Linked DNA regions of Homo sapiens: all the other regions are linked to region 1. Evidence: promoter capture Hi-C in 16 types of primary human blood cells and fetal thymus (Javierre and others, 2016). All regions are on one chromosome and are shown on one strand. The core of a region is centred on a gene start or on the middle of the fragment in contact, and the rest is flanking DNA. Distances in the headings are between cores, read along the strand shown. Region 1 holds the start of PARP1 (poly(ADP-ribose) polymerase 1). Region 2 holds the start of GUK1 (guanylate kinase 1). Region 3 holds the start of C1orf35 (chromosome 1 open reading frame 35). Region 4 holds the start of ARF1 (ARF GTPase 1). Region 5 has its middle 47 kb from the start of LINC01641.

Region 1 (2,819 bases), core at 83-2,582:
TCGGCCTATGTCTCACAACCTTCTTGCTTACTCAACATCCTTGTCTCTTAAGCCACTAGCTTCTTCTCTATGGTTAACACTTTTTATGAGTTTTATTCATCTGCTTATTTTTCTTATCCTCTATACCAGAATTGAATATTTTCAAATAAAGCACACTCATGTTACAATCTTTGAAATGAAAAAAAAAAATGCATAGGATTAGAAAAGAAACCAATTTTAATAAACTATATTTTGAAGTATAGTTCTATATTAAACAACAAGATCTAGGCCAGGTGCAGTGGCTCATGCCTGTAATCCCAGCAATTTGGGAAGTCGAGGTGGGAGGATTGCTTGAGGCCAGGGGTTCAAGACCAGCCTGGGCAACATGGAGAGATTCCCCATCTCTTTCTTTACACACACACACACACACACACACAAAATATCTGATAGCAACAGGTGCAGTCATTACCACAATTTCGAGTAGTGATGAGCTTAATAATATTTCGAGTTATCACCAACAACTGTAAAGTAACATGAAAACGTCTGTGATGACTATTGCCCACAAAGTCACAGGTACTGCTAATACTCCTGGTATTTGTAGTCAAATTCATAATAAAGGAAATGCTAGGTTTCAGTTGGTATTTTGTCCCGACGGTCTGTGGACGGCAGGTTAGAACGCCCGTCCAAGCCAGGAGGGTGGACCTAGCACTGCAGGGTCCACCTCGGGCCAATCAACTATATTCCCGAGGCGGGGGCCTGCGCTTCCCGGACCCAGCTGCCCTCAGGGGAGAGAGGACACACTTAAGAGTTTGGGGCCGGCGTGGTAGCTCATGCCCCTGATCCCAGCACTTCGGGAGGCTGAGGCGTGAAGATCACTTGTAGCAGGAGTTTGAGACCAGTCTAGCCAACTTGGCGAGACCCTGTCCCTAAAAAAAATTTTTTTTTAATTAGCCAGTTGTGGTGAGCGCCTGTAGTCCCAGCTACTCGGGAGGCTGAGGTGGGAGGATCGCTGGGCTCAGGAGTTCCAGACTGCAGTGAGCCATGATGGCGGCACTGCACTCCAGCGCGGTGAGACTCAGTCTCAAAAATAAAAGGGGGAGGGGTTGGGGGTAAAATTAGTTGTGAAATCAAGTAAGACTTCCTGGGACAGAACAATCAAAGGGGTGGCGCCGGGTCCTCCAAAGAGCTACTAGCTCAGCCCAAGCCCCGCCTCGGCCCCCAGGGCAGCGGCCCGCAGAGCTCCACCCGGCAGGCGCCCGGGAAACTCCGCCCCCCGGCCGGCAGGGGGCGCGCGCGCCGCCGGCCCCGCCCCGTGGACGCGGGTTCCGTGGGCGTTCCCGCGGCCAGGCATCAGCAATCTATCAGGGAACGGCGGTGGCCGGTGCGGCGTGTTCGGTGGCGGCTCTGGCCGCTCAGGCGCCTGCGGCTGGGTGAGCGCACGCGAGGCGGCGAGGCGGCAGCGTGTTTCTAGGTCGTGGCGTCGGGCTTCCGGAGCTTTGGCGGCAGCTAGGGGAGGATGGCGGAGTCTTCGGATAAGCTCTATCGAGTCGAGTACGCCAAGAGCGGGCGCGCCTCTTGCAAGAAATGCAGCGAGAGCATCCCCAAGGACTCGCTCCGGATGGCCATCATGGTGCAGGTGCGGGCCGCTGTGCGGGCGGCGGGGCGGGGACGCGGCGCCCCGGGTTAACTGTGTCCGGGAAGGCTGGGGGAGGGCGGGCCCAGGGAGCGAGCGGGCCCGGGCCCTCGGAGCGGCACTTGGGGCCTATGGGGCCGCGGCCGCCCCTCCTCCCGAGCGGCCCGGCCGACCCTTCCGGAAGGTTTTGCTGATGTTGCAGGAAAAGCCCGGGAAATAAAGTCTGCAGCTGGTGTTGCCTTTCGCTTTGTGAAAACGAGGAGCCTCTTCTCTTCTCCTTTCTGGGTGGCGGTGTTTTATTACTGCCGTTCGCCTCAGGGGTTGGGGGGGAATTGTACATGGTCTCTTTAAGCTAATCTGATTTTGACCTATCTTGTTCTGGAGGGTTTTTGTTCTACATGGATGGTGGCGACTGACATGTGGGTTTTTTTTTTTTTTGTTAAACCTATTTTTGGCAGTCATTTCAACACGTCATTTAAACGCTCACTCTCATTTTTTATTTTAATTAGGCAGAACTATGCAGAAAGGTGTCATTTCTGTACAGTACATTCACTTTGAGCCTAATTTGTGCTTTAAAGTAACATTTTCCCCAAATTTTCCAGATTCACAGACGCGTTCTCTTGGTGCATTTGCAGCTGTCTGGTTTGAGTAAGAGTGGCTCCAGGGGGGTTTCTCATGTGGGCTTTTTGATAGATTGAATCCCCTTCTGAGGTTTCCTGAGCCTTCTGTGAGGTGGTGGGCTTGAAGGCCCCTGTCATTTCCCAGGGGCTCCTGCCTCCAGCTTCCAGTTTGCCGATGTCTACCTTTGTATTAATAATTCTGGTTCTCATCTGCCCTGTTCCTCCTCGCTTCCAACATATTACCCAAGCTTAGTGCTCATGGTCAAGGTAGCTTGATTTTCCTCCCTTCCATGAGCTGTAATGTGTTTTAGGAATGACCAGATATCCCTCAGTGGATTTTCAGTACTTAGTACAAGGGAGGGCGACATTTACCGAGTGGATACCCAAGTGCCAGGTGTACTTCCGTTATCTTATTTCACAATATGCCTGTCATCTTGGTGTCCTCGGGGCATACCTAAGTCAGTACGTGGCACACAGTGCTTATTTGGTAGGCATTTTTTAAGTTCTAAGCACTCTGTTAGGTTTTAAGGACACAGAATCCACCTTTGGGAATTTCCAGTTTGGTTAAACGGGAAATGACTGGTAAA
Region 2 (2,819 bases), core at 124-2,623, 1.7 Mb before region 1:
CTTCTGGCTTCCAGCCATCCTAAGGACTGAACAGAGTCACCACCTTGCCCCCGGCCCACTGTTCGAGGAGATGCTAACAGAGGGCTTGACCTTCTGAGAACCGAGAGAATTCAGCCCCCGCCTGGCCTCTCGTAAGACACAAACCACCAGACGTGGGCCTGGGCTCTGGGCTGGGCCAGGTGGATGAAGGGGAGGCTGGTGGTCCAGGCGGCTGCTCTTGGCTGCAGGGTTTCTGGGCACACATCCGGGTAGCACGCATCCTGGCCTTCAGCAACCTCGTTTTAAATGGGACCACACCAGGAGCAGCCAGGGCGCTTTCATTTTCACTTTCTTTCCCCGGGGGGGACAGGAACATTCCTTTACCTCCTGAGGAAATCGGGCTCTTCCAGAGCCACAGAGGAGTGAAGGCCCCAGCCCTTCACGATGCTGCGCGGCTATGTTTGGGTCTGTCCATCAGGGAGAAAGAAAAACCGGCCGAGTCTTGCACAGGGTCCTCGACAGCAACCCCAGGTAAAGAGCAGAGCAAGCCTGAGACAGGAAGGGGCCATGAGCCCAAAGACAGCAGAGCAGGACCCAGCCCGGGGCCTCAGGACCGACCTCTTTCATGCAAAGACGAAACCGAGGCCCACCACACGCAGGGTCAAAATCAACTTTGAGGCACCTGCTTCCCACACCAGTCCTTACTGGGGCATACTTCTAAGGCGACGCTCAAGAATGGCAGCAGGGCAGCTTCAAGAACCCCAACCCGGACTCTGGCTTTGGAGAATCCGAACCCCAAATGCCACACCCATGCGTCGGGAAGGCCTGCTGTTTCCCCAAGTCCCCGTCTCTGCGCCGTGCCGCGGAGTAGGCAGAATCCTGGGAGCCCCGGAATAGCCGGCTCCATCCGCCCAGGACCCCAAGGCTTGCAGGGTGAGGTGGGAACCGGAGCGCACACCGCGCCGGGCCAGCGGTAGGGACTCCCAGCTGCTCTCTTTGGCGGCGCGCCCAGGTGTCGGGAAGACACCGAGCGCTCCTATACGCCCGGGGAGCAGCTCGACACTGCGATAACTGCCGGCCTGCCCAGCTCCTGAGGAGCGCCCCGCCCTCCGGGACCCGGGCTCCGCTGCGTTGCCAGCCCGTCCGCCCTCCAGAGCTCCCCCGTTCTCAGGGCCCACAGTTGAATGCGGCACAGGGCGTCTCGGCTAGGAGGAGATCCGGAGGCGGCGTGGACTGGGCGACCGCAAAGCGCAGGGACCGCTGCCGCCTCGACCCGAGTCACCCTCGCGATCGCGCTTGTCGTACTCACCGTCCGGTGGGGCCCGGCCCAGGGCGGCCGCAGCCAGCCCGGCCAGCGGGCGCCGCAGCATCCGGGGCCACCTCTTCCGCCCACTGAACCTACGTGACAGCGCCGCACCGGCCCACCTCCGCCCGCGCGCGAGACTGACGTCATGAGGCGACTGCCCCGCCCATGTCTCACTCGTTCTTCCCCGCCCCTTAGGGAAGTACTTACCTCAGTGCCTCGCTAGCCCCGCCTCCACCTGCGCTGGCCTGTCGCGACCGCAGGGGCGTTCAGCACAGCGCCCTCCCAGCCCGTCTTCTCCCGCTGCGTCACAGCGCCACGCCGGCCCGCCTCCACACAGCGCGAACTAACATCACGACCCGCCGGCCCCGCCCACGGCGTACTTGTCCCGCTTGTCACTCAGAGAAGTACCTCAGTGCAGCGCGGGCCCGGCTTTCATCTGCTACGTCACAGCGCTGCCTCAGCCCGCCTCCTCCCGCTTATGTCACAGCGCCGTTTCCGTCCTCCATCTACACTGCAGGGACCTAACTAACGAACGACTCCGCTAGCCCGTTCCAAACCGGCCACTCTCCAAAAACCATTAATTGGGGAATGTGGCCGGGCGCGTGGTTCACGTCTGTGATCCCAGCTCTTTGGGAGTCCGAGCCGGGAGGACCGCTTGAGGCCAGGAATTGGAGACCAGCCTGGGGATCATAGGGAAACCCCTTCTGTACCAAAAAATTTAAAAACTTTTTTGTGCCTGTAGTCCTTGCTACTCGGGAGGCTGACGTGGGACGGTCGCTTGAGCCTGGGCAGTCGAGGCTGCAGTGAGCGGTGTTCGTGTCACTGCACTCCAGTCTGTGTGACAGAGCGAGACCCTATTTCTTTCTTTTTTTATTTTTTGAGACGGAGTTTCGCTCTTGTCACCCAGGCTGGAGTTCAGTGACGCCATCTCTGCTCACTGCAACCTGGGCCTCCTAGGTTCAAGCGATTCTCCTGCCTCAGCCTCCCGAGTAGCTGGGATTACAGGCGCCCGCCACCACGCCCAGCTAATTTTTGTATTTTTAGTAGAGACAGGGTTTCACCATGTTGGCCAGGCTGGTCTTGAACTCCTAACCTCAGGTAATCCACCAACCTTGGCCTCCCAAAGTGCTGGGATTACAGGCGTGAGCCACTGCACCTGGCCACGGGACTCTATTTCTAAAAATTATTTTAAATTTTTAAAAAAGATTTATTGAAGGCTGGGTGCAGTGGCTCACACCTGTAATGCCAGCACTTTGGGAGTCCGAGGCAGGCAGATCACCTGAGGCCAGGAGTTTGGGACTAGCCTGGCCAAAATGGTGAAACTCTGTCTCTACTAAAAATACAAAATCAGCTGGGTGTGGTCGTGGGCCCCTGTAATTCCAGCTACTGGGGTGGCTGAGGCAGGAGGATCACTTGAACCTGGGAGGTGGAGGTTGCAGTGAGCCGAGATCAAGCCACGGCACTCCAGCCTAGACGACAGAATGAGACTCCGTCTCAAAAAAAAAAAAAAAAAGTATTGAATGTGAACTGCAGG
Region 3 (2,819 bases), core at 106-2,605, 1.7 Mb before region 1:
ACAGAGTGGGCTGCAGCAGTTCTTGCAATAGGCAGTGAGAGAAATGAAGTTCTCTCTAGGTATGTCCGTGGGGGAGGGGGTTGGTGAATGGAATTTATATGAGGGTTTGAGGAATCTGGCTCAGGCTGAGTCCAGTTTCTTTCTGTGTTTTGAGCAACAACCTAGTTACTGTCATCTGTGCCTGGGAACGTTCATGGCTATGGCTCGGGTTCAAGTCTGCAGAGGAAATTATACAGTTGGCGAAGTCACAGAGTGGCCAAGGGACTCTGTTTCTCAGTCAGCACTGGGAATGAAAGTGGAAAGGGGAAGCAGGGGTACGTCACAACCTCCAAAATCAGGGTGCCCAGCACGCTGAGGTTCTGGTAAGGGGTTTCTTCCAGACTGCAGACTTCCTTCCCGCTGCCTTCACACAGTAGAAAGCTGCACAAAGCTCTTGGGGTCCCTTTTATGAAGGCTCTGTCCTCATGACCTAGTCACCTCCGAAGCACCAACGCCTTGGGGTGAGGATTTCACATGGGAGTTAGGGTGCACATTCAGTTTAACACGGCAGGGATAGGACCAGTGCTCTGAGGGTGTCTGGGTAGCTGCTGGTTCATCCAGAAGTTTACTGGGTAATACTCAGAAATTCCACAAATCATTAAGGTCATTACCTTGTTAAGCTCCCGATATGGAATCGCGACTAGCAGTGACCAATTGGCGGTGTTAACTAGGCGCATCTTGTGTGTTTTCTTTTTTCTTTTTTTATGAGACAGGGTCCGCTCACTCGTTCAGGTTGGAGTGCAGTGGCGCGAAGTCCTGGGTTCGAGATCCTCCCGCCTCAGCCTCAAAGCGTTGGGGCTACAGGGGCGCGCGCGCGCCTGGCCCATTTTAACTTCTTATTTTTGAGACAGTCTCGCTCTGTCGCCCAGGCGGGAGTGCAGTGGCGCGATCTCGGCTCACTGCAACCTCTGCCTCCCGGCTCAAGTGATTCTCCTGCTTCAGCCTCCTGAGTAGCTGGAATTACAGGTGTGCACCACCACACCCGGCTAATTTTTGTATTTGAGTAGAGACCGGGTTTCACCATGTTGGACAGGCTAGTCTCGAACTCCCGACCTCAAGCGATCCGCCCGCCTCGGCCTCCCAACTTGCTGGGATTACAGGCGAGAGCCACTCCGCCCGGCCCCGTTTTAACCATTTTTAAACTTCCAGTTCAGAGGCGTTCCCGCGCCCGGCAGGGTAGGCGCAGTGCGCAGGCGCCCAAAGCCGACGTGGAGGTGATGCGCGGGAGCACAGATCCGGGGCAGTGCGCTGCGCAGAGGCGCGCGGCGAAGCCGAGTGGGCGCGGGAGTGACGTCACGGCGCGCGACGCGGAGGCGGGGTCGGGCCTGGGTCCGACGGTAGTGGGTAGCGGGTCTCGGGTTGCGGGTTGCAGGTTGCAAGCCGCAGGCCCCAGGCAACTGCCTTCCCGGCGCCATGTTCGGCTCCAGTCGTGGAGGCGTGCGCGGCGGGCAGGACCAGTTCAACTGGGAGGACGTGAAGACTGACAAGCAGCGGGAGAACTACCTGGGTGGGTGCGCGCGGTGGGCGGGCTCCGGGCTCCGGGCTCCGGGATCCCGGGCGGGCGCTGGACTCACAGCGTCTACGTCCGCAGGCAACTCGCTGATGGCGCCGGTAGGCCGCTGGCAGAAGGGCCGCGACCTCACCTGGTACGCCAAGGGCCGGGCGCCATGCGCGGGCCCGAGCCGCGAGGAGGAACTGGCAGCCGTGCGGGAGGCGGAGCGCGAGGCGCTGCTGGCCGCCCTGTGAGTGTCCGCGGACGGCAGCGGTCGGTGCCTGGGACGGCGCTGCCGGGGCAGGGTGGGGCCGGGGCCGGGGACTGGGGGTCGGGCTGGGCGGGAGCGGGGCTGCGGGGACTCGCGCGGGCGGGACCCTGAGGACGAAGGCTGGAGTGGTGAGGACCTGTGGTGGGAGGAGGTCCGTCCGTCCTGACGCCTGCCCCGGCCCTCTCGCAGTGGCTACAAGAACGTGAAGAAGCAGCCCACGGGCCTGAGCAAGGAGGTAACTCCCCGGGGTGGGGGGCGCGTGGAGGGCCGTGGGTGTGGGGCCGACTCGAGCGCTCCCTGTGCTCTCGCACCTGCAGGACTTCGCGGAGGTCTGCAAGCGGGAAGGAGGCGACCCCGAGGAGAAGGGCGTGGACCGGCTGCTGGGGCTGGGGAGCGCAAGGTGCGGGCGGGTTTCCAGGGGAGGGCAGCACTGGGCTCGATTGCTCGGGTGAGGCGGACCCCTGCCGTACTGTCTTCATCGCCATGTCCCTGCAGTGGCTCCGTGGGCCGCGTGGCGATGTCCCGAGAGGACAAGGAGGCCGCCAAACTGGGGCTGTCTGTGTTCACGGTAATCCCCCGCCCCGCCTGACCGCAGCAGGGGCTAACAGGGGTGGGGCGGGGCGGGGGCACTGAACGGAGCTCCCCGGGGCGCTGCGGGGCGTGGTGTGGGGCCGGCCCGCAGACTCCTCCGCAGAGCTCGCTTCTCCCGCAGCATCACCGCGTAGAGAGCGGCGGGCCCGGGACCTCGGCAGCCTCGGCCAGGAGGAAGCCGCGGGCGGAGGATCAGACGGAAAGCAGGTGAGGCTGTGCCACCTGGGCTAGCTGTGCCCCGGGGTGGGGGGTCTCGGGAGGACCGGAGCGGCTCCCACTCGGGCAGGTGGCAGCTTCTCTTGGCGCACCGGCCCGGCGGGTGGCCTGCCCTACTTTACTTCCTGTCCCAGTTACTCCTAGGTTTTTCTCTAGGGGAGTTTCTCGGGTCACCCTTGAAGAGAGGTCCTAAGTACTGGCAGTGGTCGG
Region 4 (2,819 bases), core at 219-2,718, 1.7 Mb before region 1:
GGACACCATCCATGCGGTCACACGTGTTAGACAATGGCTAACGCAACAGCAGAGGGCCACAGGGGCCGCACACAACTGCACCGCGGCATCTCACACTCCTCCCAACACACTGCGGAAAACGCCAGAACCACCAGCCTTGCAACAGCCGGCAAAGAAAACTGCTGACCACTAGTTCTGAAACAAGAACTACAACTGCCCACTCCAACAGGGGCAGTGGCACCAACTCTACAGCTCTCAACTAGGCGGCGACTTCGGGGACCATCCAAAGCCTCCGACCTCCCTTCTTTTCCTGCCCGCGATTCCGAGTGCATTTCTGCTCAATTCCTGCAAAGCAGCAACTGGCTGCCTGGACTGAAAGGGAGTGCCAGGAGGTGCCGTCGGAATGGTTATTTAACACTCTAGGTGCGCACGGCTGTCCAGCCCCAATCTCACACGCCGTAACCACCCAGGCTGTGCTCCGAGAGAGCGCTGGGGCCGGCCTCTGCGGCCTAGAGTCTGCGAGCAGGTCGTTCCGCAGGCAGGTTAAAGATTCAGGTAGGTTAAAGATTCACCAGCTCAGAAGAGGCCTTCTTATCTACTGCCGACAACGTCAAGGAAACCACCCTGGAGTTAAAGCGAAGATCGACCGGCCCTCTGGAGGCCACCGGTGCCCTGAGTGCTGACCCCAAATTGCGTCTCACTGGTGTGAAGGGAGGCACTCTGGGCTCCCCCGGAGGTCCACGCATTCCGTTCAGCAGACAGGGAAGGGCACGGGGTTCCTGTCCACCTGCCCGCCCGCTCTCACCACCCCTGACCCGGTACCGTCTTCACAGCAAACACGAACTGGATGGAGTCGGGAGGCGAAGATGCAAGCCCCCACCACCTACATGACCTTGACGGCGTCTCAGGCCGCCCGAGCCTCAGTTTCCCGGTCCCCGAGGCGGGGGTCCGCCCGGATGCCGCTCGCTCGCCTGTACTCGGGTGGGGGAGGCCCCACGACCCCCACCGGCCCCCGCGGCCGCTAATCCCAACCGTCCACGCGCGGGCGGCCTCGGGAAACGAGAAAGGCAGAGGCGAGGGAAGCAGGAAGCCCAGGTTTCCTGGAGAAGAGCCCGGCGTCCAAGCGGACTTCCGGGCGACGGGCGGGGGCAGGGACAGGCAGAGGAGGACAAGCGGCCGCGAGCGACTTCGGGAACCTGTGAGGGGTGCGAGGAGCTCACCGACCCGCCCGTCCGCCCAGCCCCGACTCCGGCCGGGCCCCAGCCTCAGCCCGGCCCGTCTGCGTCCGCCCCCGGCCCGGCCCTGTCGCCGCCGCCGCCGCGGGGGTCGACGTGCCCTTCGCGAACCTCAAGTCGCCCCGAGGCCAGTCCCCAGCCCCCGCCGGCTCCAACGTCTCTGCGGCCCACACCGGCCCGCGCCCCTCGCCCTCACCTCAGAGGCTGCTGCTCCGAGCCAGGCGTTGGTTTTGCTCCCACAAGATGGCGGCTCTGACGGCGGCCACGTCAGCGCCTCCGGGCGCGGGGCACGCCGGGTAAGGGGCGGAGACGCCGGGAACTCCGCCCACCGTGCGCCCGCGACGCAGGCGCGCTGGCTCCGGTAGGGCTGCAGGGGGCGGGGCCGGGGACACCCTGCCCCGGGCCGCGGTCTTAGCTCGCGCGCACCCTAGGGGCGCGCACCCGTCTGCGCCTGCGCCTGTGAGTCTTCCGCGAAGACAGCCTGTGGCTCACTCCCGCCCGTTTGGCGTATTTGGAGACTGAGGCCCGGGGGGCTCCTGCAGCAACTGGAGCTGCGGGGCTGGTTGCCACCTTCCTCCTCCCACACCCGGCAGTCACCGGGAGGCCTCGGGGACTGCGTGAGGACGGGGGTGCGAGGCGCCCCTCGCCGGGGTTGGGGTTCCTGGCTCCCAGGCTGCGCGGGTCCACGTGCCCCGGCCCTGTGGAAACCTGTGGCACTCGCGGGGCCACGGCGGAAGGTCCGAAGGCGGGAGGCTTGCTGTGTCCCCGCACTGGCCTCGGCGCCCCGGCGGCCGCAGTGACGCGCGGGCTCATACCTGGGCCCGGAGCAGACGCCGGGGAGCTGGCCGCAGATGAAGCAAAGGAGGAGGTGGCCTGGGGACCCCGGGGTGAGGCGGGGGCCGTGGGGGTGGGGCCCAGGGTTGGGGACGGCCGCCCAGAAGGGAGGTCACAGTGGTCTCTAATGAGCTGGCCTTTAAGCTGAGATCCAGTTGAGGCGGAGGAGATCCCGCTCTCAGGCACCTGAACAGAGGACCGTTGCAGTCCCTCTGTGTTCCGTGTGCTGGAGGCCTGGCTCTGCCCACCACCCTCAGGTCTTCTTGCCTCTTCCCTTGTGCTGCTGTGAGGGGTTGGGCTTGTGGGAAAGTGTCCCTGCAGCACAGTGCCCTGGGTATTGTGGAGGTCGGGAATCAACCTGATTTGTGCAGGCCGAGGCCCGGGGGCAGGGCCTGAGGGGTGGGATCACTGGGCCTGGCCCAGGCCTCCTGCGCCCCTTTGCTGCCCCCATCACCTACGTTGCTTGCCCCTTGGGCAGGGCGTCCTCACTGCCTCTGGAGGCTGCGATGGGCAGATCTCTCCCCCAGGGCTGCACCTGCGGGGGCTACGAAGGTCCCCAAAAGCGGTGACCCTCCTGCCCCCAAATTTAGTCCCTTTTTCTGCCTGGGGCTCCCTTCCGAAATCTCACCTCTGTGAAGCTGTGGCAGGGTTGTCTGTTTAGGGGAAGGACGTCTCCCACCCTACAGGCATCTCAGATACTCTTGGAAAGCCCCAGGGAGGGTTGTGGATGCCTGTGGAACCTTCTGGTTGTGCTGCCTCTCCCTGCTCAGC
Region 5 (2,819 bases), core at 211-2,710, 1.0 Mb before region 1:
CTGCCTCAGCCTCCCGAGTAGCTGGGACAACAGGCGCCCACCACCACGCCCGGCTAATTTTTTGTATTTTTAGTAGAGATGGGGTTTCACTGTGTTAGCCAGGATGGTCTCGATCTCCTGACCTCGTGATCCGCCTGCCTCGGCCTCCCAAAGTGCTGGGATTACAGGCGTGAGCCACCGCGCCCAGCCAGGATAAATATTTTAAATTTTGTTCCCCTTCAGCAATGGAATGCACTTGTCAAAGAACAGAAGACACACCCTCAGAGCTGCAGGAGTTATCATTTCAGAAGTTCTGGATGTTGCCACAGGGGCTGCCATGGTGACTGTAAAACTGGTTGAATCAGAGCAAAGATGACAGCCCTTCCTGCCTGCTCCTTGGCCAGCTCAGCTCCCTGTGACCTTGTCCTCTGGAAAGCAGCCCTCCAGCCTCCACACTTCCATGTTTTCCCCACCCTGGGTAGAAGCACTAATAGCTCATGATTCTTACTTCAGTGCATGTTCTTACTGCCCCTCTGCTTTGATGGGTAACACCAAGCAGATAGTCCAAGGTCAGCCAGCGAGGGAATGCCCTGGGTAACAGTTCTTTCTTGTGGGTCTTCCAGCGTTTGGCCTCAACTCCATAAACAGCGATGGGAAAGCCTCACACTTTCTTGATCTGCAGCCGGATTTCTGTTGAACCAGCCTGATTTCTTTCCTGCTCTCTTCAGAGGGTAGGGGGTTGTCCTAAAGCATATTCTGTTTTCCCCAAGGAAACGAGCTGGCTTCCTCTACAGCTATTTTTCTGCTCTTCATTACTTGTAAATTTCAACTCTCCAGCCTCCAGCTACGCAAATTTACAAACTATTATTAGTGGCTCTGTGGAAACTTCATATTTGAAATGTTTTCTGATAAAAGAATGGGGACATTCTTTGTTAAAAAATTATTTCAGAAATACTTAGCTCATTTCTCCCTATTCTAGCTGTTTTCCTCTTTGTTTCCCAGCTCACTGCCAGATGCAGTTTTTCACAGCTTTGCAAAACTGCTGTTTAATTTGACACAGTGTTAACAGTTATTAATCAAGGTGGTGGGAATATAGGTTTCAGTTACAGTATTATTTAGACTTTTCTGTAACTTTCATATTTATCAGAAAAGAACAACCATACGATAAATGGCTTTTTGTCCTCTTTTCACGGGGTTCTGTTGGTGGTTCTGTTGCTATCTCAGTTCCCAAGCTGTTAGCAGGACCACGCTGTTTCCTTTGTGTACAACGAGATCTCAGTGTTCCAGGGCGGTGTTTCTCCCACCTAACAGCCCAGACTTGCCAACCATTCTTGCTGGATTAGGAAATGAACTACTGATCCTAAAGATTAGAAAACAAAATAGGGAGATATAGGGTCCCCAAGGACTTCTCTATTTAACTCTACCTCGGATTACTAGCTTTGTTCCAACAACTTTGCTTCAGTTCCCGGAGAAAATAACCAGGCTCTTGAGGTGGGCTGACCCCACTAAAGCTGCTGGGGTGGTCTGGACCAAAACGCCACATCATATGACATTTGAGGGAGTTGAAGTTACAGGAGGAAGGTGTTGATTCCAGAGCTTCACGTTTTAGCTAGACTTGGTTACACCCTTGTTTGACATCTTTTAGCCAACAAACTGCATCCTTGTATGCGCTTTCAGCATCTGCATTTGGAACAGTTGTCAAGCTCGTGTGTGTATCAGAATCACCCAGAGAACTTGTTAAAATGCAAATTTGTGGAACCCACCCCCAGAGTTTCTGATTCAGTAATAATGGGATGAGGCCTGAGGCTTTGCATTTCTTTTTTCTTTTCTTTTTTTTTTTTTTTTGAGATGGAGTTTCACTCTTGTTGCCCAGGCTGGAGTGTAGTGGCACGATTTCGGCTCACTGCAACCCCTGCCTTCCAGGTTCAAGCAATTCTCCTCCCTCAGCTCCCAAGTAGCTGGGATTACAAGCTGTGCCAGCACGCCCAGCTAATTTTTGTATTTTTAGTAGAGACAGGGTTTCACCATGTTGGTCAGGCTGGTCTCGAACTCCTGACCTTAGGTGATGCATGCACCTTGGCCTCCCAAAGTGCTGGGATTACAGGTGTGAGCCACCGCACCTGGCTCAGGCTTTGCATGTCTAACAAGCTCCCAGGGGACGCTGATGCTGCTGATTGGGAACAACAGTTTAAGAACCACTGATTTAGGAGACAGGACTGGTGGTTGTATCTTACCTGTGGGCTGGGGTGAAAATAAAGGTCAAGAGGGGAACAGATGTGGTGTTTTGTACAGTTCTGTGAGTTGTTTTTTTTTTTGTTAGTTTGTTTTTCGAAGAGAAGTTTGCTGTCTGTCACCCAGGCTGGAGTGCAGTGGCTTGATCATAACTCACTGCAGCCTAGAATTCCTGGGCTCAAGGGATCCTCCTGCCTCAGCTGCCTCAGTAGCGACTGGTCTCAAACCCTTGGGCTCAAGCAATCCTCCCACCTCAGCCTCCCAAAGTGCTGAAAGTACAGGCACCAGCCACTGTGCCTGGCCCAGTTTTGTGTTTTTACATATGCTTATAACTTAGCAGTACACGATTTCCATTACTCCGTGCTCCAGTAGTTGTGGGAAAGAGAGGCACTGTTTGGGAAGGGGCACATCAGTGTGTATCCCAACCCAGAAGCTATATTCTCTGCTCTTATAGTGACCCTGTCCACGCCCTGGTTGGAAATCAACTTGAAATTTGCATCTCTAGATTTTTTTTAAGTGTACTAATACGTGTCTCAAAATTTCACAGCACAACTGGTGTTCGAAGCCATGTTTTGGGGTGTCCTAATTCTGCCTACCCATCTCACTCT

Evidence for each region. Contacts are between HindIII fragments. The CHiCAGO score rates a contact against its expected background, and 5 or more counts as called.
Region 2: a contact is called between the fragment with the promoter of GUK1 here and the fragment with the promoter of PARP1 in region 1, in 1 of 17 cell types (neutrophils). The highest score is 5.2, in neutrophils.
Region 3: the fragment with the promoter of C1orf35 here is called in contact with the fragment with the promoter of PARP1 in region 1 in 1 of 17 cell types (naive CD8 T cells); the score reaches 7.5 in naive CD8 T cells.
Region 4: the fragment with the promoter of ARF1 here is called in contact with the fragment with the promoter of PARP1 in region 1 in 1 of 17 cell types (neutrophils); the score reaches 6.8 in neutrophils.
Region 5: a contact is called between a fragment that was not itself captured here and the fragment with the promoter of PARP1 in region 1, in 3 of 17 cell types (M2 macrophages, M1 macrophages and M0 macrophages). The highest score is 6.9, in M2 macrophages.

What each region holds. Positions count from the first base shown.
Region 1 is chr1:226,406,606-226,409,424 of GRCh38, reverse strand. PARP1 (poly(ADP-ribose) polymerase 1) reads left to right here and starts at 1,332. Exons shown (of 23, transcript NM_001618.4): 1 at 1,332-1,615. The coding sequence starts at 1,496. RefSeq lists a cis regulatory region at 737, enhancers at 665-809, 988-1,117, 2,708-2,767 and silencers at 1,148-1,407, 1,658-1,757. The HindIII fragment of the contact is 6,506 bases long and covers 1-2,482 here.
Region 2 is chr1:228,138,833-228,141,651 of GRCh38, reverse strand. GUK1 (guanylate kinase 1) reads right to left here and starts at 1,373. Exons shown (of 8, transcript NM_001159390.2): 1 at 1,289-1,373. The coding sequence starts at 1,349. RefSeq lists a silencer at 787-1,346 and enhancers at 1,357-1,586, 1,697-1,746. The HindIII fragment of the contact is 28,593 bases long and covers 1-2,819 here.
Region 3 is chr1:228,101,861-228,104,679 of GRCh38, reverse strand. C1orf35 (chromosome 1 open reading frame 35) reads left to right here and starts at 1,355. Exons shown (of 8, transcript NM_024319.4): 1 at 1,355-1,546; 2 at 1,631-1,781; 3 at 1,992-2,037; 4 at 2,120-2,202; 5 at 2,298-2,370; 6 at 2,515-2,600. The coding sequence starts at 1,453. RefSeq lists enhancers at 428-1,147, 1,148-1,868, 1,869-2,588, 2,589-2,819 and silencers at 1,591-1,860, 2,021-2,190, 2,441-2,520. The HindIII fragment of the contact is 8,620 bases long and covers 1-2,819 here.
Region 4 is chr1:228,081,357-228,084,175 of GRCh38, reverse strand. ARF1 (ARF GTPase 1) reads right to left here and starts at 1,468. Exons shown (of 5, transcript NM_001658.4): 1 at 1,411-1,468. RefSeq lists silencers at 1,082-1,181, 1,212-2,031, 2,042-2,171. The HindIII fragment of the contact is 7,793 bases long and covers 1-2,819 here.
Region 5 is chr1:227,438,820-227,441,638 of GRCh38, reverse strand. No RefSeq gene overlaps it. Among named protein-coding and RNA genes, the nearest start is that of LINC01641, 47 kb to the right of the region's middle. The HindIII fragment of the contact is 6,782 bases long and covers 1-2,819 here.